Linked DNA regions of Homo sapiens: all the other regions are linked to region 1. Evidence: promoter capture Hi-C in 16 types of primary human blood cells and fetal thymus (Javierre and others, 2016). All regions are on one chromosome and are shown on one strand. Each heading gives the region's core, a stretch centred on a gene start or on the middle of the fragment in contact. The rest is flanking DNA. Distances are from core to core; before and after follow the strand shown. Region 1 holds the start of VRK3 (VRK serine/threonine kinase 3). Region 2 holds the start of ZNF784 (zinc finger protein 784). Region 3 holds the start of ZNF865 (zinc finger protein 865). Region 4 holds the start of ZNF628 (zinc finger protein 628). Region 5 holds the start of PPP1R12C (protein phosphatase 1 regulatory subunit 12C).

The links. The method cuts DNA at HindIII sites, captures the fragments that hold promoters and counts their contacts. A CHiCAGO score of 5 or more calls a contact.
Region 2: the fragment with the promoter of ZNF784 here is called in contact with the fragment with the promoter of VRK3 in region 1 in 4 of 17 cell types (total CD8 T cells, total CD4 T cells, naive CD4 T cells and 1 more); the score reaches 6.5 in total CD8 T cells.
Region 3: a contact is called between a fragment that was not itself captured here and the fragment with the promoter of VRK3 in region 1, in 1 of 17 cell types (fetal thymus). The highest score is 8.1, in fetal thymus.
Region 4: a contact is called between the fragment with the promoter of ZNF628 here and the fragment with the promoter of VRK3 in region 1, in 5 of 17 cell types (naive CD8 T cells, non-activated CD4 T cells, total CD4 T cells and 2 more). The highest score is 8.2, in naive CD8 T cells.
Region 5: a contact is called between the fragment with the promoter of PPP1R12C here and the fragment with the promoter of VRK3 in region 1, in 2 of 17 cell types (naive CD4 T cells and total CD8 T cells). The highest score is 8.1, in naive CD4 T cells.

What each region holds. Positions count from the first base shown.
Region 1 is chr19:50,022,198-50,028,168 of GRCh38, reverse strand. It overlaps VRK3 (VRK serine/threonine kinase 3), which reads left to right and starts at 2,797. Exons shown (of 15, transcript NM_016440.4): 1 at 2,797-2,902. ZNF473 (zinc finger protein 473) reads right to left here and starts at 2,164. Exons shown (of 5, transcript NM_015428.4): 1 at 2,047-2,164. RefSeq lists enhancers at 2,011-2,060, 2,471-2,520, 2,861-2,940, 2,990-3,491. The HindIII fragment of the contact is 2,425 bases long and covers 2,160-4,584 here.
Region 2 is chr19:55,621,775-55,627,745 of GRCh38, reverse strand. ZNF784 (zinc finger protein 784) reads left to right here and starts at 3,180. Exons shown (of 2, transcript NM_203374.2): 1 at 3,180-3,262; 2 at 5,102-5,971. The coding sequence starts at 3,185. RefSeq lists enhancers at 2,800-2,949, 2,700-3,199 and silencers at 3,020-3,079, 3,150-3,199. The HindIII fragment of the contact is 2,172 bases long and covers 2,857-5,028 here.
Region 3 is chr19:55,603,788-55,609,758 of GRCh38, reverse strand. ZNF865 (zinc finger protein 865) reads right to left here and starts at 4,112. Exons shown (of 2, transcript NM_001195605.2): 1 at 4,027-4,112. RefSeq lists a silencer at 3,844-4,343 and enhancers at 4,387-4,938, 4,939-5,490. The HindIII fragment of the contact is 2,248 bases long and covers 2,690-4,937 here.
Region 4 is chr19:55,472,801-55,478,771 of GRCh38, reverse strand. It overlaps ZNF628 (zinc finger protein 628), which reads right to left and starts at 2,155. Exons shown (of 3, transcript NM_033113.3): 1 at 1,965-2,155. RefSeq lists silencers at 1,434-1,757, 1,890-2,089. The HindIII fragment of the contact is 2,239 bases long and covers 1,752-3,990 here.
Region 5 is chr19:55,115,040-55,121,010 of GRCh38, reverse strand. It overlaps PPP1R12C (protein phosphatase 1 regulatory subunit 12C), which reads left to right and starts at 3,374. Exons shown (of 22, transcript NM_017607.4): 1 at 3,374-3,788. The coding sequence starts at 3,468. RefSeq lists enhancers at 1-80, 3,019-3,298, 4,259-4,338, 4,739-4,788, 4,143-4,978 and silencers at 3,359-3,438, 3,629-3,708, 3,729-3,828. The HindIII fragment of the contact is 6,736 bases long and covers 2,445-5,971 here.

The DNA of each region.
Region 1 (5,971 bases), core at 1,548-4,047:
CTGCCACCACGCCCGGAGAATTTTTTGTATTTTTAGTAGAGACGGAGTTTCACCGTGTTAGCCAGGATGGTCTCGATCTCCTGACCTCGTGATCCACCCACCTCGGCCTTCCAAAGTGCTGGGATTACAGGCATGAGCCACCACACCCGGCCAAAAAAATTAAATTTAAGTTTAAAAAGCGGCTGGGTGCAGTGGCTCATGCCTGCCATCCCAGCACTTTGGGAGGCCAAGGCAGGCGGATCACCTGAAGTTTGGAGTCCAAGACCAGCCTGATCAACATGGTGAAACCCCCGTATCTACCAAAAATACAGAAATTAGCCAGGCATGGTGGTGCACGCCTGTAATTCCAGCTGCTTGGGAGGCTGAGGCAGGAGAATCGCTTCAACCGGGGAGGTGGAGGTTCCAGTGAGACCGAACTCCAGCCTGGGTGACAGAGCGAGACTCTGTCATCAAAAAAAAAACACAATTCTCCCCTTCAGATGAGGCAAGTGCTCCCCAAGGCCCCGCAGCCTCACCTGGACCAGTTCTCTTCTTTCCTGTATGTCATCTGCCTGGCCCTCACAGACAGCTGAGCTTGAGATCCCTGTCTGCAGTTACCAAATCACATTCTGCCCACATCTCATATACTCTCAGCTCTGGGAGGAAAGAAACGAGGGCCCAGAGGTGGAGCCCAAGGTCATCCAGCCCAGAGTGACTTAAGCCAAACAATTATCAGGCTGAGAGACCTTGGGCCCAAGAGTCTTGCCCTTCCTTCCAGACCATTTACCTTCTCTAAGCCTTAGTTTCCACATGTACCAAATGGAACAAATACAACAGATCTATGGTCCTTTAAATGCTCCAAAAACCAGAACTTGATTTATAAACTGACCGCAAAACTTCACCTGGATTGCCACAGGCCATGTAGGGTCTTAATGTTCTCATAAGTGTGAATATTCACACCTTGCCCCACAGAAACATTTTATGACCAAAAACTGGCCCAGATTCCTCGGGGTGTGGGGGGGTGCTGCCTAATTATAAAATATGCACCCTATTAGCTTTCTAAAATCTGAAAAATTCTGATTCCCGAGATTGCCTTGGTGCCAAGGGGACCTGCACTTATGTCTCAGTGCTGCTGCGGGGATCAGAAGAGGAAATGCAACTCCAGCAGGGCGCCTGGCACACAGAAAGCACTCAAATACTGTAAATGTTAAGTACTTCAACTTCCCGAAGAACTCCCATCCATCGTCCAGCAAGATTCTGCCTAAATTTGCCAACTTCAGGTAACTCATTCCCCTCCTTCCCCAACCAAAACCAAAATAAAACAGAACCACTCCTCTCAGGGCCATCAGGGAGGCCTGGAAACCCCTTTAGCAGTTTTCTTTTCTTTTCTTTTCTTTCTCAGCTCACTGCAACCTCTGCCTCCTGGGTTCAAGCAATCCTCCCACCTCGGCCTCCCAATTAGCTAGGAATACAGGGGCGCACCACCACGCCCGGCTAATTTTTCTATTTTTTTCTTCTTTTGTGGAGACAGGGCTTCACCATCTGGCCCAGGCTAGCCTCGAAATCCTGGGCTCAAGCGATCCGCCCACCTCAGCCTCCCAAGGTGGTTTTCTTCCTTTCTTTTTTTTTTTTTTTTTTTAAGATGTAGTCTCGCTCTGTCACCCAGGCTGGAGTGCAATGGCGCGATCTCGGCTCACTGCAACCTCCAGCTCCTGGGTTCAAGCGATTCTCCTGCCTCAGCCTCCTGAGTAGCTGGGATTACAGGCCCCCGCCACCACGCTCAACTAATTTTTGTATTTTTAGTAGAGACTGGGGGTTCGAGGAACTCCTGGCTGTAAGTGATCCCCCCCGCCAAGGCTTCCCAAAGTGCTGGGATTACAGGCGTGATCTACCGTGCCCAGACCTTGAGCGGTTTTCATAACAGACTGTGAAAGACGGTTCACACCTTCACCCTGACAACCGCCGCCCAAGGCGACGCACCCTTTGCCGAAGTCGCCCCCACTTGCATTCCGTCACCTCTCAGGAAGGACCGAGCCCGCAAGTCCCTCAGCCCCAGCGTCTCCGTACCTCGGGATTGTAGTCGGCCGCGTCAACAGACGCAACCCCAGCCTCAAGGGAGCGGGAGATTCAACTCCCCGCACACGCGCCTCCTCGCAGCGACTTCCTGTGCGCGAGAAGCTTCTCTGAGCGGCTGCACCCAGGATCCTCCGCGGCAGCGCCAGGACTCTATTTCCCAGAGGGCTGTGCGGGCGACTTCTTTCGCCTTCCCATCTCCTCCTGCTTCTTCAGCCTTAGCACTGTGGGAGTAGAGTAGAAAGAGAATCAGGACCAGGCGGCATCAGTTTGTAGTCCAGATTTTTACCTTGTTAAAGAATCATCTAATTAGCTTCTTGCCTTTACTAGAAGTCAGGGAGTGTTAACCTTTTCCGAAGAGCAAGCGGTAGGTTGCCATGGAAACGCGTTGTGACGGGTTTCTGAGAAAACAAGCGGAAGTAAGGGGCGGAGTTGAGGCAGAAGTTTAGGTAATGTGACCTCTGATTGGTGGAGAGGTACCTCACGGTGCATTCCGATTGGTCTGACACTGACACATGCGCAGTAGAACCAGAAGGCGTTCCAAAGCGGCTAGAACGGAGGGGAGGGGGATGAGCAATGAGGGAATAATCCCCATTCCGTCTGGAATCAGAGGGCGGGCCTGCCGCGGAGGCATCTGGGAAACGGAGTTCCCAGGCAGGCGAAGCCCAGGGGCCGTCAGGAAGTCAGCGGCGCCTGCGCGGGCGCCTCAGATTCAGGATGCGCGCGCAGCGCTCTCCGCCCAGCGGAAGTTTTCGCTGGGCAACTGAGAAGGTGAGTCCGGGTAACTGCGGAGGATCCGAGGGTCAGGCTGCAGAAGCCCAGAATCCCACCCCAGTCCCCAAGTACAGAGGTGAGGGGAAGCGAGGCGAACGAGGGGACGTCCCCCGACCCCCTAGCCGCAGCTCGGCCGGGGCGTCCGTGACGTCAGCACGACCGTTTGTGGGAGGCGGAGGCCCCTGCTGTCGGGGTTCGGAATGAGAGCGGCTCCGGGTCGCGGGGTTCACTGGCCTCCTCTTGAGCTTCCCAAGCCACCTTGGGCTCCGTGTTGGGCATGGCTAAGGCGGAGATGGGCGGAACTTGTGGGAAGTTCGACAGCTCCTCCGCTGTGAAACTTGGCGTCTAAGTCATCCCGTGGTTTCTATGGAGGTGCGGCCGAAGGGAGGCTCTGTCGTCGCCTAGGCAATCGCCCCACCTGCGCTGAGGTGGGGTCTGACTTTTAGCCTTTTTGCTGTGCTGTTTCCTGAACTTTCTAGGAGGAACACTATACAGTAGTTGACGCATAGCAGCTGTTCCCTAAACATTTGTTGAATAAGTCAAATAAATTAAGATAAAGACTGGCCTGAGGGTTGGAGTCTTAGGGTTTCAAGTCCTGACCTGGCCATTGCATAGGTGACTTCAGCACATCCAATTTTATTGAGCGTTTACTATATGGAAGGCTCCGTGCAACCGATATTACACTACTATAACCTGGGTTTGAACGGTGCTAGTCTAATAGGCACTGTTCAAGCCCAGGTTATTATAGCAGTGTCTAAAACAAAAATCCTGCCCAGCTAATTCACATTCTCAGGGTGGTTGGGGATGCCAGACACTAAAAAAGAAATGTTAAAGAATATTTACAGGTCTGCAGTCCCTTATCTATAACTTTAAAATCCAAAACGTTCTGAAAACTGAAAGGTCTTTTTCTCTGTTTTGCAACTTACTTGGCAGGCCAACCTCACCTGGCTTTGAACTTGTTTGCTGGCAATACCCACTCTGAACTGATGTGTGACTATTTAGAATTTTTAAAGATTTTGTTGTGCAAATCATATACTTATGGAGAGTTGCCCCTGGATCTCGCCGGTGTTGTAATATGTAATAGGTTCTAAAATCCAAAAAATTTGGCTGGGCACGGTGGCTCCCGCCTGTAGTCCCAGCACTTTAGGAGACCGAGGTGGGCGGATCACCTGGGTTCAGGAGTTCGAGACCAGCCTGGCCAACATGGTGAAACCCCATCTCTACTAAAAATAAAAAAATTAGCCGGGCATGGTGGCATGCGCCTGTAATCCCAGCTACTCGGGAGGTTGAGGCAGGGAGAATCGCTTGAACCCAGGAAGCGGAGGTTGCAAGTGAGCTGAGGTCGTGCCACTGCTCTCCAACCTGGGTGACATAGCAAAACTCTGTCCATCATGCAATACATGGCAGAAGCAAGATCCAAACCCAGGCAGATTATTTCCCAAGTTTATCCTCTTAACCCCTGTACTGATCTGCTTCTAAGTGGCACGTCTTTTTTAGGGACCATCCAGCTAGATAATTCCGGCCCTGAGCTTTGAGTCTCTGGCTGGATGTCTAGATTTGCCTGAGAGATGAATGTGTACTGACACAGCTGGGGACCCCCCCCACCCACCTTCTTGGCACATTTTCTTTTGCAAAGGAGACAATGATTTATTCACTCAGCAGACGTAGACCCAGCATTTGCTCTGTGCCAGGCCTGTTTGAGGCTCTGGGCACACTGTGGCAAACAAGGCAGGGAAAAGTCCCCGCCATCATGAAGCTTACATTCTAGTAAGTCAGAGTATGTCAGGTAGTGACAAGCACTGTGAAGAAAAATAAAGCAAGGTAAGGAGGATAAAACATGCTATTAGTAAAATGGTGTCCAGGGCCAGGCACGGTGGCTCGAGCCTGTAATCCCAGGACTTTGGGAGGCTGAGGGGGATCACCTGAGGTCAGGAGTTTAAGACCAGCCTGGCCAACATGGTGAAACCCCATCTCTACTAAAAATATAAAATTAGCCAGGCGTGGTGACACGCATCTGTAATCCCAACTACATGGGAGGCTGAGGCAGGAGAATCACTTGAACTCGGGAGGCAGAGTTTGCAGTAAGCCGAGATCGTGCCATTGCACTCCAGCCTGGGCGAAAAGAGCCAAACTCCATCTCAAAAAAAAGAAAAGAAAAAACACAGTAAAATCGTGTCCAAGAAGGTCTCTGAGAAGGTGACATTTGAACAGAGAGCTAAAGAATGTGATGAGGAAGTTAACTGTGTGCACTCTTAGGGGGACAGCGTTCCAGGCAGATGGGAGAGCAGGTGCAAAGGTCTTGGGGAAGAAACGTTCTTGTCACGATTGGGGAAAAGCACCGAAGCTGTTGTGGCTGACTCAGCGTGAGCAAGGGGAGAGGTGGGAGAGGTCAGAGAGGGAACAGGGAAGTGGCAGATCATACAGGGGGCTCCTGGGCCATGGTAGGAATTTCAGCATTTATTCTGTCTAAAATGAAATCCACCATACGGTTTTGAGTAGAGGAGGGACAGGGTCTGACTTACATTTTATTTATTTATTTGTTTATTTATGAGACTGAGTCTTGCTCTGTTGCCCAGGCTGGAGTGCAGCGGTGCAATCTTGGCTCATTGCAACCTCTGCCTCCCAGGTTCAAGCGACTCTTGCGCCTCAGCCTCCCAAGTAGCTGGGATTACGGGTGCCCACCACCACGCCCGGCTGATTTTTTTTTTTGTACTTTTTTAGTAGAGACGGGGTTTCACCATGTTGTCCAGGCTGGTCTGGAACTCCTAACCTCACGTGATCCGCCCACCTCGGCCTCCCAAAGTGCTGGGATCACAGGCGTGAGCCACCGTGTCCGACCCACCATATGGGCCAGGGCAGGGACACAGACAGGGTCTGACTTAGATTTTAAGTGGATCCGTCAAGCTACTGGGTTGAAAATAGATTGTAGGGACAAGCGTAGAAGCCGAAAGTCTAGTTAGGAGGCTGCTGCAGTAGCACAAGGGAGAGATGGTGGCCTAGACCAGGCTGGTGACGGTGTCAGAACCGGGGGTGGCACATGGTTAAAAGACTCTCTTGCCGTGGTTCCACACCCAACATCAGCTTCCAGATTTAAATCTACAAGAATGTTCTGACCTGCTGCCCCAAGAACCCAGTCCGGTTTTGC
Region 2 (5,971 bases), core at 1,931-4,430, 5.6 Mb before region 1:
TTGTCTAATGGCTCCGTGTAGCAGGGCTTCTAGCCTCAAGTCATGCAATAGCCTGTTAGTGTTATGCCAGGTACCGAGGGACTCAGAAGCCAGACAACAGGTGAAAAGGCAAGGAACCCAGATTCATTTTTAAATTTTAAAATTTTATATTTATTTTATTTTATGTTTATTTATTTGTTGAGACAGGGTCTCACTTTATCACCCAGGCCAGAGTGCAGTGGTGTGATCTTGGCTCACTGCAGCCTCAACTTCCCAAGCTCAAGCAATCCTCCTGCCTCAGCTCCCCAAGTTCCTGGGACTACAGGCGTGCTCCACTGTGCATGTTAATTTTTGTATTCTTAGTAGAGAATACCAAGCCCAGGCAGAACCCACATTTATTGAGCACCAGTTGGTTCCAGGCATCACACAGACCTTTGGCATTCTCAATCAGTGGCATTCTAACTACAACCCTGCCAAATGACATTATGGTGCCCACTTTGTAGATGTCAGCTAGACACTTAGAGGAGACATTGCTTGCCCAGAGTTGCACAGCAAGCAGATAAACGGATCTGGACCCAGGTTTGCCTGATTTGAAAGCTTATGGTAATTCCACTAAACAGTGCTCTCCTCTGCAAATATTTAATAGCTTTAGTGGGGGTGGGGAGGAAAAAAAAGGGAAAAAATACTCAATAGCCTTAAGCTCTGGTACAAAGTTCTTCTATCTGCATGAATTCAATTTCTCACTCATTCATTCACCAAACACTCACTGAGCCATATACATGCCTTCTCTATAGGGATGTACAGAGGGGATACAGAGATGACATACTTCCAGCTCTCAAAAAAGGGAAACTGGAGGATGAGTTCTGGGTGCTATGAATGATCTCTTTTAATAAAGAGCTTCTCAATAAGAAATAGACCAGGCGCAGTGGCTCATGCCTGTAATCCCAGCACTTTGGGAGGCCGAGGCGGGCCGATCAGCTGAGGTCAGGAGTTTGAGACCTGCCTGGCCAACATATGGTGAAACCCTGTCTCTACTAAAAACAAAAAACAAAACAAAACAAAAATACAAAAATCAGCTGGGCTGTAACACCCTGGGAACAAATCCGAACGTTCCTTCTAAACCAACGCAGGCCGACTCGAGGCTCTAGCAGTCAGTGGAAGACCTCAGCGGAACTGAAGAGGCTTTGCTTTGTTTCCACAGTAAAGGTTTTTGTGGTTACCTCTGCACCACTTGCGATAACGTAATGACGTGTCACACCTGTAGTCCCAGCTACTTGGGAAGCTGAGGCAGGAAATTTGTTTGAACCAAGGAGGTGGAGGTTGCAGTGAGCTGAGATCACGCCACTGCACTCCAGCCTGGGCTGTTTCTCAAAAAAAAGAAAAGAAATGAAATTATTTCACACCCAAGAGATTAGCGAACATTTTAAAGTTTGAGTATCAGATATTGATAGGAATGTTAAGCAACAAAGGTCCCTATTTATTGCTAGTGGGAGTGCCAAATGGTAGTAATTATTATAGCTAACTCATAGCACCTGCTGTGTGCCATACATTGTCCAAAATACTTTATATATAATGACTTCTTTAATCATCATAGCAACTGTGTAAAGTAGGTTTTATTATCACCCTCATTTTGCAAATTAGGAAACCTGGACAGAAAGAGCTGACTTAAGCATTAGACACAGTAGTAGATACAGTGCCTAGGGCCCATGATACTCTTAGGGACCCACAACATTTAAAAATTTATTTTAGGCCGGGCGCAGTGGCTCACACCTGTAATCCCAGCACTTTGGGAGGCCGAGGTGGGCGGATCACCTGAGGTCAGGAGTTCGAGACCAGCCTGGCCAACATGGTGAGACCCTGTATATACTAAAAATACAAAAATTAGCCGGGCATGGTGGCGGGCACCTGTAATCCCAGCTACTCAAGAGGCTGAGGCAGGAGAATCGCTTGAGCCCGGGAGGCAGAGGTTGCAGTGAGCCATGATCATGCCACTGCACTCCAGCCTGGGCGACAGAGTGAGACTCCATCTCAAAAAAAAAAAAATTATTTTAAAATCAAAAGAAAAGAAGGGAAATATAGCTTTGGAAGACCAAGGCAGAAGGATCGCTTAAGGCTAGGAGTTCAAGACCAGCCTGGGCAAGGCAAGACAGCAAGATCCCCATCTCTATAAAAGAAGAAGAAAGGAGGAGGAGGAGATAATTCAGCCTAAGTGGTGTTTATCTTTATTTTATACCAACATATCACAAAATATAATTTCATATATATTTATGAATGAAATGATCATGCTTAGGATCATGTTTAAGTATCTCCTATCCTGCCCTTTCAAGAAAACTATTTAAAGATGTTTCCAAACTCTTCCATGTCTCTTCTCAGTGGTTTGTCACAATGCTTCTACAGTGCTACACAAAAGAAAGAGAAATGGTCCAGAGAAGTGTAGTGACTTATCCAAGGTGATACCACCAGAATGACTAAACGGGGCAGCTAAGAAGAGCCCCGTCCTTGATGCTGCTGAAAACCCCGCGTTTTTGAGCTCTTTCCTCCCAAACATAACATCAGCTTGCGGGTTTTTGCGTCCTCCCAGGACCACCTGTGTTGCTGTTTACTGAATATTTTTCTCCACACTGCCTTTTTTTTTTTTTTTTTTGACAGAGTCTCTGTCACTCAGGCTGCATGCAGTGGCGAGATCATGGCTCACTGCAGCCTCGACCTCCCGGCCTCAAGCGATCCTCCCACCTCAGCCTCCCGAGTAGCTGAGAATACAGGCATGAGCCACCGCACCCGGCCTACACCGACGTTTATAAACTTGGCGTCATTACGTTGTCATGAGCAGTGCAGAGGTAATCACAAAAACGTTTACCGTGGAAACAAAGCAAAGCTTCTTCAGTTCTGCTGAGGTTCCCCTGACAGCCAGAGCCTCGAGTCGGCCTGCGTTGGTTTAGAAGGAACGTTCGGATTTGTTCCCAGGGTGTTACAGGCATCCTAGCGCCACACAGAGCGTACCCTCGGAGGGACAGACAGGTAATTAGAGAGGGAACAACTCACATTCTCCCGGGCTCAGCCGCCACGCCCCGCCCCGCCACGCCCCCTGCTGCACCACGCCCCCTCGCAGCCCCGCACTGCGCCTGCGCAGTAGCTCTTACGCCAGTTCGAGCCCCACCCCCTTTCAGAGCGAACATTGGCCTTGGGGGCGGGGCTTGGGCACAAGATGGCCGCTGCGCGCCCAGAGGCCCAGAGTCGGAGCTCACCGACTCCGGAGTCGCGATCCCAGGAGCCACTGGACCTGGTGCGGGCAAGGAAGGGGCCTGGGCGTGGGGCTCGAGGTGGGAGGAGGTCGTAGTGTGGGGGGCGGGTCCGGGGCGTGGCCTATGAGGGGGTGGGCGAGGGAGGTATTTAGTGCTATGGCCCTGGGGGTGGGGCTTCTTGTGGTTTCGCGAGGGGCGGGGCAGGGGAGGAGACTATGTCATGGTGGGCGGGGTGGGGGAGGGACCTATGGGTGGTGGGCGGGGCCTGGATGGGGGCGGAGTCTGAGGACGGTGTTGTCTTGTGGGACGGGTTTGGGTCCAGGGAAGGGGGCTTACCAGGGATAATTTGCATAATTTGGGTGGAGCCTTGTAAGGGGCGGGGCCTCATAAATTCTAGGGCTAATTCTAGGGTAGAAGGTTGGGAAGGTGACCCTGAAAAACGTGGGGGATTATGATTGGAGCACCTATGTCGGGGTAGGGGATAATTCTTCAAGGGTCTTAGTGATGCTTCTCGAATGCCCAAGGGAGAATTTGGGGGTAGAAGTGGGTGGTCTAGGTGACTTTGGAACTTCCTCCACGTTACCCCACTCAGAATTAGACTAATTGAGGACATTCATTCATTCAACAAACATTTACTGAGCTCCTACTTCGGCTCTGTAAATAGAGAAGTGACCAAGACAGACAAGGGTTGTGTTCTTTTGGAGCCTGCAGTCTCTTGAGAGGAGAGAGACAATAAAGGAGAGTTACTGTGATATGTTCTATAAAGGAAATAAAAATTGAGCCAATTTCTATAAATTGAGCCAAGAGTAGGGGTGGGGCAGCTAAATTTAGACGAGAGAAGTCAGCTGGGTGCCGGCTTATGTTTAAGCTGGGGTCAGAGAGATAAGTGGAGCTACATCGCCACAGATATTATAGTGACGATTTGGGATAAGTCATTTGGAGCCACTGGAGGGTTTTGAGTGCGAAAAATGACTTGATCTGATTTACATTTTCAAAAGACCTTCAGGCTATTCCTGGGAGGTGGGTTACAAGCCAGCAGAAATAGGAACAGAGATGCCCTTGGGTTTTTCAATTTTGGAGGCGCCAAGTGATGGGGCTTTAACTAGGGTGGAGGACAAAAGGTGGGATCCATGATATATTTTGGACAGGAGAGGAAATGTTGATGAGGATACAACAGAATCCTGGAGGATGGGCCGGGCGCGGCGGCTCACGCCTGCAATCCCAGCACTTTAGGAGGCAGAGCCAGAAGGATCTCTTGAGCCCAGTAGTTGGAGACCAGCCTGGGCAACATAGTGGGACTCCCTCTACATTAAAAATAATAATAATAATTTTTGTTTGTTTTGCTGTCTAAGATGGAGTCTTGTTCTGTCGCCTGAGCTGGAGGGCAGTGGCATGATCACATCTCACTGCAACCTCCACCTCCTGGGTTCAAGCGATTCTCGTGTCTTAGTCTCCCGAGTAGCTGGGATTACAGGCAGCAGCCACAACACCTGGCTAATTTTTGCATTTTTAGTAGAAACGGTATTTGCCATGTTGGCCAGGCTGGTTTCGAACTCCTGACCTCAGGTGATCTGCCTACCTCAGCCTCCCAATGTGCTGGTATTACAGGCCTGAGCCACCGTGCCCAGCCAGAAATAATTTTTTTTTAACTAGCTGGATGTGGTGGTGCATGCCTGTAATCCCAGCTACTCAGGGAGATGAAGTGGGAGGATCGCTTGAGCCCAGGAGGTCAAGGTTGCAATGAGCCACGATCGCGCCAGGGCAACAGAGTGAGGCCCTGTCTGAAAATAACAGAGGAGCCCAAGCTTTAATAATTGGGGCGTGCTGGGGCGGTCCTGAGGCAGGTTCCACAGGCTCCTCTTTCTTCTCCTCTTGCCCAGGTCCTGGTGCCTGATGACTGCCGGCCTGGCACACCCCCGAGTGACCTCATCGAGATCCAGGTGGTGAAGGTGACGGACACCACGCTGGTCCCTGAGCCCCCGGAGCCAGGTTCTTTCCACTGTGCCTTGTGCCCTGCTGCCTTCCGGCTGGTTTCCGAGCTGCTGTTCCACGAACATGGCCACTTGGCTGGGGCCGAGGGAGGCGGGCAGGGTGGGGACCCGAGCCGGTGCCACGTGTGCGGCCACAGCTGCCCGGGCCCCGCCAGCCTGCGCGCGCACTACAGCTTGCACACGGGGGAGCGGCCCTACCGCTGCGCGCTCTGCCCCCGCGCCTTCAAGGCCTTGGCGCCCCTGCTCCGGCACCAGCACCGGCACGGGGTGGAGCCGGGCACCTCTCGGAGGCCTCCGGACACAGCGGCCGTTGCAGAACAGAGGCCCGGGGTGGCCCCGGAGAGGGCGGAGGTGGTGATGGCGGCGGCGGCGGCGGGCGCAGCGGTGGGGAAGCCTTTTGCCTGCAGGTTCTGCGCCAAGCCCTTCCGCCGCTCCTCAGACATGCGAGACCACGAGCGCGTGCACACTGGCGAGCGGCCATACCATTGCGGCATCTGCGGCAAGGGCTTCACCCAGTCCTCGGTGCTTAGCGGCCACGCCCGCATCCACACTGGCGAGCGCCCGTTCCGCTGCACGCTCTGCGACCGCACCTTCAACAACTCCTCCAACTTCCGCAAGCACCAGCGCACCCACTTCCACGGGCCGGGGCCGGGGCTGGGAGACTCTGGAGGCCAGCTGGGCTCGTCGGCGGCTGAGGGGTCGGGGAGCGGGTGTGGGGTAGGGGACCCTGCGGAGGAGGGGCGGGGGGAGACCGCGAAG
Region 3 (5,971 bases), core at 2,564-5,063, 5.6 Mb before region 1:
GTATTAACGGTTCACATTTATTGTTTGACCAGTTTGATATTTGTTATTGCCTGGAGGCAGCACAGTCCTGTACCATGACTGGGCCCATCTTATAAGTGGGGAAACTGAGGAGCAGCATGGGGAAGGCATTCCTCCAAGGTCATGTGGCCAATAAAGAGGAAAGCAGGTAACTGATTCCAGGTCTTTCTGATGCCAGACTGTGGGCCGTTCTGCTGCAACAACGCTGCCTTGTGATGAAATTCTGGTTTGTTAATAAAGAGTAACGTGCGCATATAACACTGGATGTGTGCTTTCTACCAGCCCAGCACTCTTGTAACTCTGATGTGTGTGAGCTCAACGAATCCTCCCAGTAACCCTAGAAGATGGTTACAAGCATTGACTCTGAAATACAAAGGAAGAGACTGAGGGCCAGAGAGATAAATTAAACTTCCAAAGTCAGGCCAGGCATGGTGGCTCATGCCTGTAATGCCAGCACTTTGGGAGGCCGAGGTGGGTGGATCAACTATAGTCAGGAGTTCGAGACTAGCCTGGCCAATATATAGTGAAACCCCGTCTCTACTAAAAATAAAAAAATTAGCCGGGTGTGGTGGTGCACACCTGTAGTTCCAGCTAGTGGGGAAGCTGAGGCAGGATAATTGCTTGAACCCAGGACACAGAGGTTGCAGTGAGCTCACGCCACTGCACTCCAGCCTGGGTGACAGAGTGAGACTCTGTTTCTCAAAAACAAACAAACAAACTTCTAAAGTCACATTGTTAACTAGTGGCAGGGCCAGTGGTTGAAGAAAGGCAGCAAGGCTCCAGAGTCCCATCACATGCTGTCTTTCGGTATTTCTCCCTCCAAAATGAAGGAGGACCCCCGCCCCCAATCCCACTTCATACTGGAAACATGCATTGCTCCACCCATCTCCCTGCCAACAAATCCCAAGTCTCTTGGCTTGACCCAAGACCAGAACAAGTCACCAACATTTGTTGACCTCTAACAAGCATTGTACTTAGGTGCCTTATGTGGCTTGTTTCATTCAAACTTCACAACAAATGTGTTATTATTATTCCCATTTTACTGACAGGAGGACTATAACCAAAGCATGTCTATCCTCGGTCCCAAACCAAACAGTAACCCCATCTCATTCAAAAGCCACAGTCCTGACTGGGCACGGTGGCTCACGCCTGTAATCCCAGCATTTTTGGAGGCCAAGGCAGGCGGATCACCTGAGGTCGGGAGTTTGAGACCAGCCTGACCAACATGGAGAAACCCCATCTCTACTAAAAATACAAAATTAGCTGGGCGTGGTGGCACATGCCTGTAATCCCAGCTACTCGGGAGGCTGAGGCAGGAGAATCACTTGAACCCGGGAGGCGGAGGTTGCAGCGAGCTAAGATCACACCACTGCACTCCAGCCTGGGCAACAAGAGCGAAACTCCTTTTCAAAAAAAAAAAAAAAAAAAGCCACAGTCCTTACAATGACCTCCACAGTCTCCTGGCTGCTCTTCCCATGTGCCCACTCTATTCCTGCTGCAGGGCCTTTGCGCTGGCTGTTGCTGTTGCCTGTAATATTCTGACTCTCAGGCAACCATCTCGCTCACCCCTTCACCTCCTCCCCATCTTTGGTCAACTGTCTTCTCAATGAGCCTCTCAGTAACCAATGACCTGTCACCCAGGCCCACATCCTCATCTCCCTAACCCTGCTTCATTTCTCTCCTTACTGCTCAGCATCATTTATAACCTCACATAATCTACTTCTTTGCCTTGATTTTGTTGGTCTCCCCATCCAGATGATCGGCTTCCTGAAGGCAAGGATTTTTATCTCTTGCTCACTGTTCCATCCCCAGGACCTACAACAGTTCCTGGCTTGATACATTTTTGTTTGAAGAAGTGAATGAATGAGGCTAGGAAAGGAGGGAGTGATTTGCTCAAAGCTGTGAACCCTAGTGGAATCCAGGGCTCATCCTCCCAATCACTTCGCTCCTGGGGTTAGGGCGCTGTTAAGAGCAGCCCCCAAGTGGGCCACAGTTGTCCAGGAGAAGGGGAATTTTTACTCTTGTATAACTTTTTGGTGTGTGGCTTTTGGGAGGGACAAGATGACAAGACATAGGAAAATCCTGGGGGAGGCCATCCTGAACCACAGCCCCCCAGGTCTATCTCTTTATCCCGTGATATTCTGAACACGCACATATACTCTTGGTTTTTGTTTTTATTTTTTTTCACTGCAGCCTCGAACTCCTGGGCTCAAGCAGCCCTCCCACCTCAGCCTCCTGAATAGCTGGGGACTACAGGTGCCCACCAACCACACCCAGCTTTTTTTTTTTTTTTTTTTTTTTCCTGTAAAGACAGGGTCTCACTATGTTGCCGAGGTTGGTCTTGAACTCCTGGCCTCCAGCGATCCTCCCACTTTGGCCTTCCCAACTGCTGGGATTACAGGCATGAGCCACCTCGCCTGGCCTGTATTTTGTCTTTTAATCATCTGCCCCCTCAACTAGCATATCCACTCCATGAGGACAGGGATTCTTGTCTATTTTGTTCTCTGTTGTACCCCCAATGTAAAGTAGGTGCTCATTAAACAGTTGTTCAACCAGTGTTTACGAATGAACGTATGAATGAATGAAGAACATTCTGGGCTCGGTAGAGCTGACAAAGGCTAGATAATTTATCCCAGTGCCCTCACCTCCAAAGCCTTTTGAGACCAAAGCTTCCTTCCTCTTGTTCTTGCCTTCAAATCTTCCACTCCACCCTCACCGGCCTCCCCTGCTGCTCCTCCACTCACCGTGCTCACCGCCACTTCAGGGCCTTTGCACTTGTTGTTCTTGCTGCCTGCTCACCCAGATCTTTGCATGGCTAAGCTGCCACTTGTAATTCAGCTTTCACCTCTAAAGTAGTTCATCAGGCTCTCAGAGAACCCACAAAACCCCGTGTATCTTTGTCGACTCGTGTCTGATCAACTAGACTGTGAGACCCCGCACAGTGAGAACACTGTGTGTATCGACCCCCTTCGTGGCTGTATATTATACCCTTCAGCTAGAATAGTGAATATGCGTTCAACGCAGAAGGAATGCCTACGAGAAAAGAAGTCACACCCTAGTGAAGTCCAGGGTCTTCCCTAGGGAGTCCAGGACGATAGCCTGAGAGCTGGGTGAGAAGCTGCAGGTCAGGGCAACAGTTGTTCACGCCATAGGAAGAGGATGAGGCACATTCTGGGAAGGAAGGCTTCACCGCCTCACTGCGGGACACTGTTCTGTGGCAGAAGTAATGAAGACGGGCTGACCGCGATGAGGGTGGGGTGAGAGGAGGTACGGGAGTATGTCATGGGAGCCTGGAGCTAAGCAGGCGGATATTTCTACCTGAGGCGGGAGAGGATGTGAGTGTGAAGGAACTCTAGAGGGAGCTGTGCCGCTGCGATGGGGGGGTGGCTTTGAAAGGGGCATTCTTAAGGGGAATCACTGGAGGACCTGCAGAAGGGAAAAAGGCATTCTTGGTGCTGACCAGAATAGAAAGTATTTTCACACCCACGAAGGGGCGTTCTGCTGGGGAGGGAGGTGGTCAGGGCCATTGGGGGCTGTTGCTGTATGGACAGAGATAACGGGGGACAGTTCTGCTGCAAGGCACTAAGGAAACACTCTGGGGAGAATTATATAGAGGATACTAATAAGAGGGTTCACGAGCAGCTGCCCTACATGGGGAGGGGCAATGCTGATGGCATCTGGAGGCTGACCTGGAGGAAGCAATGACGGGGAGCGCTATGTGGAGGGGATCCTACGAGGAGGTATCATTTGGGGGCCCTGGCAGCCGTTTAGGGGATCGCCACGAATGAAAGCGCTTTGGCAGCCATCCTAGCTGGGGGCGTTCATGGGGGAGCTATCTGCAGTGATCCTACCGGGGAGCAGTGATTGGGGGTCCCTTGGCAAGGGCCCGGCGGGAGCTGCACTGACTTGCTAGGGGTTGGGGGACGTTCTGGGGACCACAGCGGGCCAGGGCGGGGCCCCCCGCCCCCGCTGCACCCGGGCCCCCGGGCCACGCACCCCGTCACTCACCGGCGCCGGGGTCTCCGCCGGGAGGAGGCCGAGGAGGCGGAGGAGGCGCCGCCGCTCCGGGGAGACCCGAGGGCCCGACCGGAAGTGCCGCCCCCTCCCCCCTCCCCGGCAGCCCCGCACCGCCCGCCTGCCCGCCCGCCCGGAAGCGGAAGTCGCGCCCGTTCCCGAGGCGCCGGCGTGGAGGATCGGAAAGAGGAGGCGGTGGCGGGGACCAGGAGGGGGGAAATGCGCTTGCGCACTGACTCGGGGACGCGAGCAGTGAAAGCCCGGGCCGATTCCGGTGGGCGAACTGAGCCAGGTGCGCCTGCGCTTTGAATGCCCGCCTCTTCTACGGGAACCCCGCGACACGCTCTGGGCGTCCGGTTAAGCCACACCTCCGGCTCGGGTCTCACACTGAAGCCCCGCCCCCTGGCCCTGAACCACGCCCATCTCACAGCGTGATTATAAGCCCCCTACTGCCTCAAAGTCTGTCTTCGTCCCCTCGCCCTCATGCAGTTTCTCCTGTTCTTCCCCCTCTCCAAGCTCCCACTCTCTGGAACTTCACCCCTCCCTAGGCCCCGCCCCCTCCATCCAAGCCCCGCCCCTTCACCCCATAGCATTTAAGTTGCACCTCGTGACTTTTGAGTGCCTCCCACCTCTAAAGCATTCTTTTAAATCGGTGGTTGTCAAGGATAGTTGGGAGGCCAGCAGCATCCGGCTGCCTGCTCAGACCATGCGGAATAGAAGCCCTGGGGTTGGGGGTCTAGGGATCCGTGTTTTGAAATACTCTGATTCTGCTGCATGCTGGTCAAGAGCCATGGATTTACCACACTTGACACTGCCCGCTCATATAATCGCTATAATCCCGGCTCCCAACTCAGCCCCATCCCAAACAGCCAAACCCAGACCCATTCAGCCCCTCCTGCTAAGCTTCCACTCTCCCAGGAACTTCCCTTAGATTAAGTACTTCCTTCTCTCCCCATCGCCTCCATAGCAGTCGTGCGCCCCCATCAGCACCTTCTAAGTCCCACCTCCAATACCCTGTTCCCTCAGAGTTTCTCCTTTAAGCCCCGGCCCCCGGCCCTCGGCCCTGAACCACGCCCACCTCAGAGCTGAATTATTATAAGCTCCGCCCCTCACCTTAAAATCCGTTCTCTTGGCCTGGCGTGGTGGCTCACGCCTGTAATCCCAGCACTTTGGGAGGCCAAGGCAGGCGGATTGCTTGAGCACAGGAGTTCAAGACCAGCCTGGGCAATATGGCAAAACCCCGTCTCTACAAAAAAAAAAAATACAAAAATTAGGCTGGACGCGGTGGCTCACGCCTGTAATCCCAGCACTTTGGGAGGCCGAGGCGGGTGGATCACGAGGTCAGGAGGTCAAGACCAGCCTGGCCAAGATGGTGAAACCCCGTCTCTACTAAAATTACAAAAATTAGCCAGGCGTGGTGGCGGGCGCCTGTAATTCCAGCTACTCGGGAGGCTGAGGGAGAGAACTGCTTGAACCCGGGAGGCAGAGGTTGCAGTGAGCCAGATTGCCCCACTGCACTCCAGCCTGGACGACAGCAAGACTCCGTCTCAAAAAAAAAAAATTAGCTAAATATGCTGGCGCCCGTCTGTAGTCTCAGCTACTCCGGAGGCTGAAGCAGGAGGGTCGCTTGAGCCTGGCAGGTCGAGGCTGCAGTGAGCGGTGATAGGGCCACTGCACTCCAGCCTGGATGACAGAGCGAGACCCTGTCTCAAAAAAAAAATTATCCGTCCTCCTTGCCCCACTCTCACGCAGTTCCTCCTGTTCTTCCCCAGCTCCAAGCCCCTACTCTCTATTAGATCAACTCTATCCATCCTCTTTAAACCGCTCTCACTTTCTGCGGACCAACCCCTAAACCTCTTTAAGCCCCACCCAACTCTAACCCTCTTCTAAGCCCCCGCCCCAGGTCCCAGCCTAACTGCCCCGCAATCTCAGCCCCACC
Region 4 (5,971 bases), core at 906-3,405, 5.5 Mb before region 1:
GCGGAACATATCCAAGATCTGGCCACTTCTCACAGGCCTCCACCTTGATCTGAGGCACCACTGTCTCTCTCCCAGGCAGCTGCAACAGCCTCCCCACGGATCGCCGTGTTTCCACCCGTGCCCTGCCCACCCGTCTGTTCCCAATACAGCAACTGAAGCGAACCCGTCAACAGGGAGGGCTGGGCATTGCATTCCTGTACTCAGAAATCTGCCACAGTTCTGGTCTTCGAGCCTGCCGACTTCCTGCAGCCTGTCCCCTCCCTGACTTGTCCTACTGCTATCCTCACTGGCCACCTGCCCCTGGTCACTCTGGTCACCCAGGATGGCCAGGCACGCCTGCTCCCACCTCAGGGCACCTGCCTAGAACCACCCCCTTCCTTTCCACCTGTGCCCGCCACTCGCTCTTTCACCTCCGAGTCTTCGCTGAAATCCCCTCTGCAAGAGCTTCCCTGACAGCCCTATTTAAATCTACAATCCCTTCCAACTCCCCATTCCCTTTTCCTGCCTTATTTTTCCCCCGCAGCAATTATCACCTTCTAATGTACCAGGATTCTCAGCCTCAGCAGTGCTGAGATGTGGGGCCAGACCATTCTCTGTTGAGGGCTGTCCTGTGCACTGCAGGGTGTCGAGCAGCAGCCCTGGCCCCCGGCCTCGACCCACTGGACGCCTGACATTGGCCTATGAAGCCCTCCTCTACGCTGTCCACAAAGCTCACTCCTGCACCTCCGAGTCTTAGCCGCAGTGTCGCCCCTGGGGAGCACCGTTGCCCCCAGATGAGAACCGCTACTATATAACCAGTGTGCTTTCTGTTTTATTCTGCCTCCCCATGCTAGAATGTCAACGCCGGGAAAATAGGGGCTTCTGTCTGGTTCACTGTTGTATGCCATCCCAGTGCCTACAATAATGTCTGGCAGAGTGTGTGCGCAGTAAACAAATTTTAAATGAATGAAGGCTAGGCATCCCCGTCGGACAAGCTACAAGAACTTGTGTGTTTTTTTTGTTTTTTTTTGGAGACAGGGTCTCACTCTGTCACCGAGGCTGGAGTGCAGTGGCGCGATCTCGGCTCACTGCAACCTTCGCCTCCCGGCTTCAAGCGATTCTCCTGCCTCAGCCTCCCGAGTAGCTGGGATTACAGGTGCACGCCACCGCGCCCGGCTAATTTTTGTATTTTTAGTAGAGACGGGGTTTCACCATATTGCCTGGGCTGGTCTTGAACTCCTGGCCTCAAGTGATCCGCCCGCCTCGGCCTCCCAAAGTGCTGGGATTACAGGCGTGAGCCACCGCGCCTAGCCAAGAACTTCCTTTTTAAAAGATAAGTGTACCCTTTAATATGTAAGCAGGTTAGATCGCGCCACTGCACTCCAGCCTGGGCAACGGAGCAAGACTCCGTCTCCAGAAAAAAAAAAAAAAAAAAAAAACAAACCTACTGATGCTAAGAAGCTGCACGTGCCTTTGAGAAGCCCCAGCATCTCCTTAAAAGAGATATCCGTGCCCTGAAAGAGCGGGGTCCCATTTAACAAGAAGACATCCCCTTTAAAAGGCCGCGCCACACCCGTTCAGCAGGCTGGACCTCCCCTTTAAGGGGATGCTGCCACTGGAGCCCCATCTCCACTTTTGTTGAGCTAAACCAGGGATCGCTTTGAAGCAACCAGGACTCAGGAGTTTTTGCTTCAATGTCTGGGAAACGGTCACTGGCCTTTAATGAGATAACCGCCTTTTAGGGGAAAAACATTGTTTTAAGTCAGAAAGCTTCTGTAAAAATGCAAAGCCTGACCCGCCCTCTCAATGTGGCCCCTTGCCCTTTAAGAGGGCGGACCCGGCCTAGCTGGCAAATGTCGGAGGTGAAATAGTGACTCCCCTTTAAGGTACCCCTTCCGGTTTCACGCCCCCCCCCCCGCCCCACCCCCTGCAACTTCTCCGCCCTCCGGTCCCTCCCCCCACCCCCACCCCCTCCGGTCTCTCACCTGCGGCCCCAATCGGGGGAACGAGGGTGGCAGCCCCAGGACCTTCCCGCGGGGGTCGACGGGAAGGTGGGGCCCCGGCAGCGGCGGTGCAGCTGTGGGGACCGGGGAGGGGGGGCAGGGGCGCACTCCCTCCCAACGGCCCCCGGCGCGAGGCACCCAACCTTTATCGGCGGCCTCTCGCGCACACAAACCCCGACGTCGCCGTCGGTGCGTCACAACGCACGTACTCCGAGTTCCCGCCCCCGGACCCTCCCATTGGCTGTGCGAGGCCTCGTCGAGCTCGGGCGCAGGCGGTGCGCGGCATCCTGGGAGTTGTAGTTCTCCCAGTTGTGGTCGCGGACTCCAGTTGTCAGGTCTTGGGGGCCGAGGCCCCGGTGAGCCCAAGGCCAGGGACGGCCAGCTCGAGACGCGGGGTCGCAAGTTCCCCTTATTAATCCCGATTCCCTCTCATCTGCAAAAAAATCCTTCCATGCACCACGGTTGTACAAAAATCCCTCCCGTGAAGCGGGCCCCGCCCCCAGGGTGTAATCGCTCCAGCGGGAAAACGAGGCCTGGAGCGCTTCCAGTCCCTCGGTAGAGCCACGTGCTCAGGATTTTCGGGCGTGTGCTTCGTGCACGCTCATCCAGACGCTGCAGAAACCTGGTTCCTGCTGGGCAAAGGTCTGTTCTGGGAGGCTGGAATCCACAGACTCCTTGTGGGGCCTAGGGTTTTAGTGGGAGACCGAGCTGCTCCAAAGCCCCTCTCCACGCTCAACCCCCGCCCAACCCAGCGTTCCAGCCACACTGGCTTTTCTGAGGGTCATTAAACGCAGTTTCTCAACCAGAGCACTAGTGCCATTTGGGATGGATTCATTGCAGCGGGGACTGTCCTACACACTCTAGGGCCCCCACTCACTAGATGCAGGTAGCATCCCCAGCCCCGCTCCACACACCCCGTAGGAGAGCTCAGAATATCTCCAGATAGAGATTTTCGCGGTGGCTCACACCTGTAATCCCAGCACTTTGGGAGGCTGAGGCAGGCAGATCACTTGAGGTCAAGAGTTCAAGACCAGCCTGGCCAACATGGTGAAACCCCGTCTCTACTAAAAATACAAAAATTAGCCGGGCATGGTGGCAGGCACCTGTAACCCCAGCTACTCAGGAGGCTGAGGCAAGAGGATCGCTTGAGCCCAGGAGTCGGAGGTTGCAGTGAGCCAAGATCGTGCCACTGCACTCCAGCCAGGGTGACAGAGTGAGACTCTGTGTTAAAAAAAAAAAACAACAACAACAAAAAGAATATCTCCAGACATTGCCACATGTTCACTAGTTGAGAGCCACTGCTCAAAGGCAGTACCCTCAGCTTGAAGACCATTCTGCATGCTGTTTCTCAGGCCAGAAGGCCCTTCTACCCTTAACCCATCCCTGCCCAGCAAGATCCCACTGGAAAGCCTCCTGTGCTAGGTGGTGTCCCTCTTACATGCTCAGCGACATTTATCTATGTCCCATGACAGCGAGGACCTTTCGTGTCTTTGCTGCCCAGGTATTCCAAACAACCAGCATGGGCCCTGATGGAGAAGCAGACGGTACTTGTTTGTTGAATGAGTGGATTTTTCCAGCCTCCCACACCGTTTCCCAAGTCCACAAGCAGGCTGGAACTCAGGGCTGATCTGCGGTGGTGTGGACCCACCCCTACCTTACAGGGTCTTGGTGCTGATGTCTCCGTGCATTCGTGCGTGTAAAAACCCTTGGCATCCAGCTCAGCCCAACATTCCTTTCACGTCAGCATTAACCACACAAAGCGGCTGCCATGCAGGGTGGAGACGTGGATGGGAATGCACTGCCCAGCTGGCTGCCAGGCTAGGAAAGCCCAGAGGTGCGGATCCCACTTCCGTCCCCCTTGCCTCGGGCCATTTTGGTCTCTGCAGTAGTGAAAGGGGCCCTCAGCTCAGCCCCCCTCATTTACCTGCCCACGCAGAGGCATTACAAAAGGGATGGGACACCCAGCCTGGGCAGTACAGCAAGACCTCATTTCTACAAAAAATAAGCTTCCTGTGGTGTACATACCTGTAGTCCCAGCTACTCAGGAAGCTGAGGTGAGGGGATCGCTTGAGCCTGGGAGGTTAAGTCTGCAGTGAACCGAGATTGTACCACTGCACTCCAGCCTGGACAAGAGAGCGAGACCCTCTCAAAAAAAAAGAAAGAGAGATTGGCATGGCTAAGACTGGCTCTTACTCTCCTTAACATTCCCCACTTTGCAGCCAGAAGGTGAACAAAGGTTTTGAAGTCAATGGCCTTGGGCAACCTGCTGTCTCTGAAAAGGTGGTGTGGATTCAACAGGTTTGTTTTCAGAACAGCCTCGCAGCCCCTTGGAGACAGTGACCGGAGGAAACTCAGGCCAGCCTTGTGTCCAGCACTTTCCAGGCCAAGGAGGAGTCTCAGGGACCCAGATGGGGAGGTGGGGTTGTCTCCTAACCCCCCGGAACATCTGTGTAGCCCTTCAAGGGATGTTGTCAGGTCCCTCATGCTGACAAGTAAACAGAATCAGCTGGGTGCAGTGGCTCATGCCTGTAATCCCAGGCCTTTGGGAGGCTGAAGCAGGCGGATCACAAGGTCAGGAGTTCGAGACCAGCTTGGCCAGCGTGGTGAAACCCCCCCCCAACTCTACTAAAAATACAAAAATCAGCCAGGCATGGTGGCGCGTGCCTGTAGTCCCAGCTACTCAGGAGGCTGAGGCAGGAGAATTGCTTGAACCCAGGAGGCAGAGGTTTGCAGTGAGCCGAGATCGTGCCACAGCACTCCAGCCTGGGCGACAGAGCAAGACTCCATCTCAAACAAACAAACAGACAAAAACAGAATCAAATAGCCAAAAACATGGATAAGATCACACAGAATCCTCAGCTGCAGCTGTTCCAGGCCCAGCAGCGCTCCCACCCACAGTCCAGACCAGGGCTCCACCCCAGGTCCTGCCCTGGGAGCTGGGTCATAGCAATGTGGAGGGGGAAAACCAATAAAAAACTCACCATCCCAGTGAGCTCACAAAACCTCCCAGGGCATGCAGTGGTAACAAAGAAGACAGACTACCCGCTGCTCAGTGCTGCAGGGAAAAGCCCAGCGGGGGATAAAGCTCCAGGGCAGCAAGGGGACCTCCAGAGCCTCAAACGCAGGACCAAGCAGACGCGCGGATGCACACCCCTGCACCCCTGCAGGCCCCAGACGTTTCTGTTTCTGGCCAACAACACCCCGCACCAGGTGTTTTGGGGGCACGGTTCCCCCCACCCCAACTAGATCAGCCTCCTTGCCCAGCCTCAGACTCTGAGCCCTGCCCCCTGCCAGCCAGGTAAACCATTCAGCCCCTCTAGGTACCCACCCTTTCCTGGGGACTGTGCTGTCACTTCCGCCCAGAGGCCCTGCACGCACTTGGGAGATTCTTCTCCATCCACCCCCATCCCAGGAGGATCAGCCGAAGGCTTTAGAAGGGACCTGCCACTCCCTTTCCCTCCCTCTCCAGAAAGTGGGGTCAGGGAGTGAAGGAGGGATCTGGAGTAATGACTGGATTCCCAGGGCCAGCGATGAAAAATAAAACGTCCTTTTCCAAACAAGTCGGGTAAGGAACCAGAGATGCATTTTAGGTTGAAGGCGGAGGGGACGGGCAAAGGGAGTCACCGGTTGCCGGCCATCCCCCGGAACAGGGGACCCAGGGGGCAGGCCCTTGCCTCCCACAGACTCAGGATGCTTCCTTCTTTTTTTTGGAAACAGAGTCCCATTCTATTGCCCAGGCTGGAGTACAATGGCACAATCTTGGCTCACTGCAACCTCGGCCTCCCGGGTTCAAATGATTCTCCTGCCTCAGCCTCCTGAGTAGCTGAGATTACAGGCATTTGCCACTATGCCCAGCTAATTTGGCTGGTCTTGAACTCCTGACCTCAGATGATCCACCCGCCTCGGTCTCCCAAAGTGTTCAGATTACAGGCGGGATCCACCGCACCTGGCCAGGATGCTCCCTTCTGACATCTCTTAAGGCCCCCGTG
Region 5 (5,971 bases), core at 2,125-4,624, 5.1 Mb before region 1:
TTGTTTTCACTTCTAGGGTCTGCTCTTTGCTCTCAATGGTAACAGTGGAATGTTGGTGCTTAACCTTGGAACTGCAGGCCCTCCTCACTGGTGTAAATAACCTCAGAAAGATAAGAAGAAAATGTTCCCACTTCTTCTGTAACAGCAGAAAAATAGATATTAGTCTGCACCATAAAGATGGTTCAGATAAGCAGGTGAAGTTAGAACATCCACAAAAGTATAAAATTGACTCTTCTGTCCTGTGTGGAGAGGGGTAAGAGTATTATAAGCCCATTCTGATTTCTGTTATTTTACTCTTTTTTGATTGCGCCAGTGCAATCCAGCCTGGGCGATGACAAGAGTGAAACTCCATCTCAAAACAAACAAACAAACAAACAAAAACAAACCATAAACACAAACTCATAAACAACATACATCCAGCCACAGACATGATTGCAAATACACACAATTATACATAAAGGCACAGAATACATACAGAACCAGAGCTACACGGTAACACCCTGAAGACCGACTTCTTGTTTTCCTGGGGGAAGGAGGTTGGTGTGTAAGTATGTGGAAAGTGTGGGGTTCAGGGACCACACCTAAGAGCCACCAGAACTATCCCTTTCTATAGAAACAGGCTTCGTGGCGGATGAAGACCCCATCTTGGGGTTCCACCAGATATTCCTACTAAAGAACATCAGCTGGGTGTGGTGGCTCATGCCTGTAATCCCAGCACTTTGGGAAGCTGAGGCGGGTGGATCACTTGAGGTCAGGAGATCGAGACCAGCCTGGCCAACATGGTGAAACCTTGTCTCTACTAAAAATACAAAAATTAGCCAGGCGTGGAGCACGCCTGTAATCCCAGCTACTTGGGAGGCTGAGGTAGGAGAATCACTTGAACCTGGGAGGCGGAGGTTGCAGTGAGCCGAGATCACATCACTGCACTCCAGCCTGGGCGACACAGTGAGACTCCGTCTCAAAAACAAAACAAAACCAAACAAAACAAAACATCAGCGATGCAATGATGCTTGGGTTTGCACCAATGATATGCAGGCTTGCTCTGCACAACTTCAGCTGACCTCCTCTCCACCGGGCCCTCACGCTGCCTCCTCTTCCCTCCTCTTTCCAGAACTATTGCCACTCCTCCAGATATGATGCACAAATGAGCAGGGTCGCAGTGGGAGTGGGCGCAGTGCGCTGATGCCACGGAGGTGTTGTGCATGACGTCTGGACACTAGACTAGCTGCATGTAATGGGAAAAGTTTGTGTTGTACCAGCGCATGCCTTGGAAAGACTTAAGTAATGCAAAAGGTTGTCCTTTAAAAAAAAAAAAAATCTGGCCGGTCGCGGCGGCTCACGCCTGTAATCCCAGCATTTTGGGAGGCCGAGGCAGTCGGATCACGAGGTCAGGAATTCGAGACCAGCCTGGCCAACATGGTGAAACCCCGTCTCTACTAAAAAACAAAAATTAGCCGGGCGTGGTGGAGCACGCCTGTAGTCCCAGCTACTCAGGAGGCTGAGGCAGGAGAATCGCTTGAACCCGGGAGGCAGAGCTTGCAGTGAGCCGACATCGCGCCACTGCACTCCAGCCTGGGCGACAGAGCAAGCCTCCGTCTCAAAAACAACAACAACAACAAAAAAAAACAAAACTACTGACAAGTTGCTCTACTTAACCCAAAGAAAGTGAAGGAGAAAGCGGCTGCCTCACCGCCTAGACATTGAGTCGCCGGATGTTTCAATGCCTCATGATACAATAAAACCACAAAAATTTTCGTAACAGCAGCAGCAACAACAACAACAAAAGAGAAAGAGAGAGGGAAAGAAACAGGCCTCGTGGGATGCGCAGTTTACGTCTCCGCGCAAACCCAAGGACTTCAGAGTGGGTGGGAAACTCCCACAGCGCTTGGGAAACAGTCTGTAGTCTCTGTCCCGATTTTGGCCCTTTTCTGTATGATTTTTATGGGACTCTTCCTGTCACAAAGTGCCAGCCACCTTCCCAATCTTGAGTTGGGCGCGGGATCCGTAAGGTGAAGATCAAGGTGTGCTCATCGCTTGGGCCCGCTGAAAGGTGATTCGCCCCCCACCTGCTGGAACTCCTTGCCCGGGACCACCAATCCCAGCATGCCTTGAGAGCGCGCGAGGGCCTGGGCGGTTCCCAGGAGGTCCGGGTGGGCGCAGGAGAAGCGCGGGCCAGTGAAAGCTCTGAGAGCCCTGTCCCTGTGGACACTGTGTCTTGGGTTCCTTTACTCGGTGTGGCTCAGGGATTACCATTAGGGAGTGGAGTGTGGATTTCTCTTGCCCCGAGCCCTAAATGCCTTGGGGCCCTGCCTTGCACCCCACTGTGCTTTTAGGGGTGTGGCCCTGTGGGCTACATTTCCCAGCGTGCCCTAGGATCGTGGTCCTGACCTTTTCACCGCAAATTTCATTTCCCAGCATGCCCTGCGAGGTCACCCAGGGAAGCTTGGAAGTGGACTGTCTTTCATGGCTTCTAGGTTGCGGACTCAGTTTCCCATGGTGCCCTGGTGAACCCATTCATTCATTCATTCCAAAAATATTTGCGATCAGGTTCTCTCAGGTTCTGTTCTAAGAACCGAGGACAAGTAGTGCACAGAAGACAAAAGATCCCGCTCTCGTGGAGCTTATTTCTAGTTAAGGGGTCAGGAAAAAAACCAAAATAAATAAAACCCAGCTGGGCATGGTGGCTTACGCTCGTCATCCCAGCAGGATTACAGGCCGAGGCGGGCGGATCATGAGGTCAAGAGATCAAGACCATCATGGCCAACATGGTGAAATCCCGTCTCTACTAAAAATATAAAAATTAGCAGGGCGGGGTGGCGCGCGCCTGTTATCCCAGCTACTCTGGGGACTGAGCCAGAATTGCTTGAACCTGGGAAGCGGAGGTTGCAGCGAGCCGATATCGCGCCACTGAACTCCAGCGTGGCGACAGAGCGAGACTCCGTCTCAAAACAAAGAAAACAAAATAAAACAACAATAACAAAACAACTCTGCCTCTCCCCGCACTCCCTCCCACGCGGCTGTCCAGTCGAATTCCTAACTGCCCCGGGGCAGTCTGCTATTCATCCCCTTTACCCGGTGCTACACACTTCCTAGTATGCCGTGGGGCACCCCTCCGGCCTGTAGACTCCATTTCCCAGCATTCCCCGGAGGAGGCCCTCATCTGGCGATTTCCACTGGGCGCCTCGGAGCTGCGGACTTCCCAGTGTGCATCGGGGCACAGCGACTCCTGGAAGTGGCCAAGGGCCACTTCTGCTAATGGACTCCATTTCCCAGCGCTCCCCGCGACCTGCCCAGCACACCCTGGGGCAGCGCCGTGACGTCAGCACGCCGGGCGGGGACCGGGAGATCCTTGGGGCGGTGGGGGGCCAGCGGCAGTTCCCGGCGGCCCCCGGGGCGGGCGGGCGGGCGGGTGGTGGCGGCGGTTGGGGCTCGGCGCTCGCTCGCTCGCTGGGCGGGCGGGCGGTGCGATGTCCGGAGAGGATGGCCCGGCGGCTGGCCCGGGGGCGGCGGCGGCGGCTGCCCGGGAGCGGCGACGGGAGCAGCTGCGGCAGTGGGGGGCGCGGGCGGGCGCCGAGCCTGGCCCCGGAGAGCGCCGCGCCCGCACCGTCCGCTTCGAGCGCGCCGCCGAGTTCCTGGCGGCCTGTGCGGGCGGCGACCTGGACGAGGCGCGTCTGATGCTGCGCGCCGCCGACCCTGGCCCCGGCGCCGAGCTCGACCCCGCCGCGCCGCCGCCCGCCCGCGCCGTGCTGGACTCCACCAACGCCGACGGTATCAGCGCCCTGCACCAGGTCAGCGCCCCCCGCCCGGCGTCTCCCGGGGCCAGGTCCACCCTCTGCTGCGCCACCTGGGGCATCCTCCTTCCCCGTTGCCAGTCTCGATCCGCCCCGTCGTTCCTGGCCCTGGGCTTTGCCACCCTATGCTGACACCCCGTCCCAGTCCCCCTTACCATTCCCCTTCGACCACCCCACTTCCGAATTGGAGCCGCTTCAACTGGCCCTGGGCTTAGCCACTCTGTGCTGACCACTCTGCCCCAGGCCTCCTTACCATTCCCCTTCGACCTACTCTCTTCCGCATTGGAGTCGCTTTAACTGGCCCTGGCTTTGGCAGCCTGTGCTGACCCATGCAGTCCTCCTTACCATCCCTCCCTCGACTTCCCCTCTTCCGATGTTGAGCCCCTCCAGCCGGTCCTGGACTTTGTCTCCTTCCCTGCCCTGCCCTCTCCTGAACCTGAGCCAGCTCCCATAGCTCAGTCTGGTCTATCTGCCTGGCCCTGGCCATTGTCACTTTGCGCTGCCCTCCTCTCGCCCCCGAGTGCCCTTGCTGTGCCGCCGGAACTCTGCCCTCTAACGCTGCCGTCTCTCTCCTGAGTCCGGACCACTTTGAGCTCTACTGGCTTCTGCGCCGCCTCTGGCCCACTGTTTCCCCTTCCCAGGCAGGTCCTGCTTTCTCTGACCTGCATTCTCTCCCCTGGGCCTGTGCCGCTTTCTGTCTGCAGCTTGTGGCCTGGGTCACCTCTACGGCTGGCCCAGATCCTTCCCTGCCGCCTCCTTCAGGTTCCGTCTTCCTCCACTCCCTCTTCCCCTTGCTCTCTGCTGTGTTGCTGCCCAAGGATGCTCTTTCCGGAGCACTTCCTTCTCGGCGCTGCACCACGTGATGTCCTCTGAGCGGATCCTCCCCGTGTCTGGGTCCTCTCCGGGCATCTCTCCTCCCTCACCCAACCCCATGCCGTCTTCACTCGCTGGGTTCCCTTTTCCTTCTCCTTCTGGGGCCTGTGCCATCTCTCGTTTCTTAGGATGGCCTTCTCCGACGGATGTCTCCCTTGCGTCCCGCCTCCCCTTCTTGTAGGCCTGCATCATCACCGTTTTTCTGGACAACCCCAAAGTACCCCGTCTCCCTGGCTTTAGCCACCTCTCCATCCTCTTGCTTTCTTTGCCTGGACACCCCGTTCTCCTGTGGATTCGGGTCACCTCTCACTCCTTTCATTTGGGCAGCTCCCCTACCCCCCTTACCTCTCTAGTCTGTGCTAGCTCTTCCAGCCCCCTGTCATGGCATCTTCCAGGGGTCCGAGAGCTCAGCTAGTCTTCTTCCTCCAACCCGGGCCCCTATGTCCACTTCAGGACAGCATGTTTGCTGCCTCCAGGGATCCTGTGTCCCCGAGCTGGGACCACCTTATATTCCCAGGGCCGGTTAATGTGGCTCTGGTTCTGGGTACTTTTATCTGTCCCCTCCACCCCACAGTGGGGCCACTAGGGACAGGATTGGTGACAGAAAAGCCCCATCCTTAGGCCTCCTCCTTCCTAGTCTCCTGATATTGGGTCTAACCCCCACCTCCTGTTAGGCAGATTCCTTATCTGGTGACACACCCCCATTTCCTGGAGCCATCTCTCTCCTTGCCAGAACCTCTAAGGTTTGCTTACGATGGAGCCAGAGAGGATCCTGGGAGGGAGAGCTTGGCAGGGGGTGGGAGGGAAGGGGGGGATGCGTGACCTGCCCGGTTCTCAGTGGCCACCCTGCGCTACCCTCTCCCAGAACCTGAGCTGCTCTGACGCGGCCGTCTGGTGCGTTTCACTGATCCTGGTGCTGCAGCTTCCTTACACTTCCCAAGAGGAGAAGCAGTTTGGAAAAACAAAATCAGAATAAGTTGGTCCTGAGTTCTAACTTTGGCTCTTCACCTTTCTAGTCCCCAATTTATATTGTTCCTCCGTGCGTCAGTTTTACCTGTGAGATAAGGCCAGTAGCCAGCCCCGTCCTGGCAGGGCTGTGGTGAGGAGGGGGGTGTCCGTGTGGAAAACTCCCTTTGTGAGAATGGTGCGTCCTAGGTGTTCACCAGGTCGTGGCCGCCTCTACTCCCTTTCTCTTTCTCCATCCTTCTTTCCTTAAAGAGTCCCCAGTGCTATCTGGGACATATTCCTCCGCCCAGAGCAGGGTCCCGCTTCCCTAAGGCCCTGCTCTGGGCTTCTGGGTTTGAGTC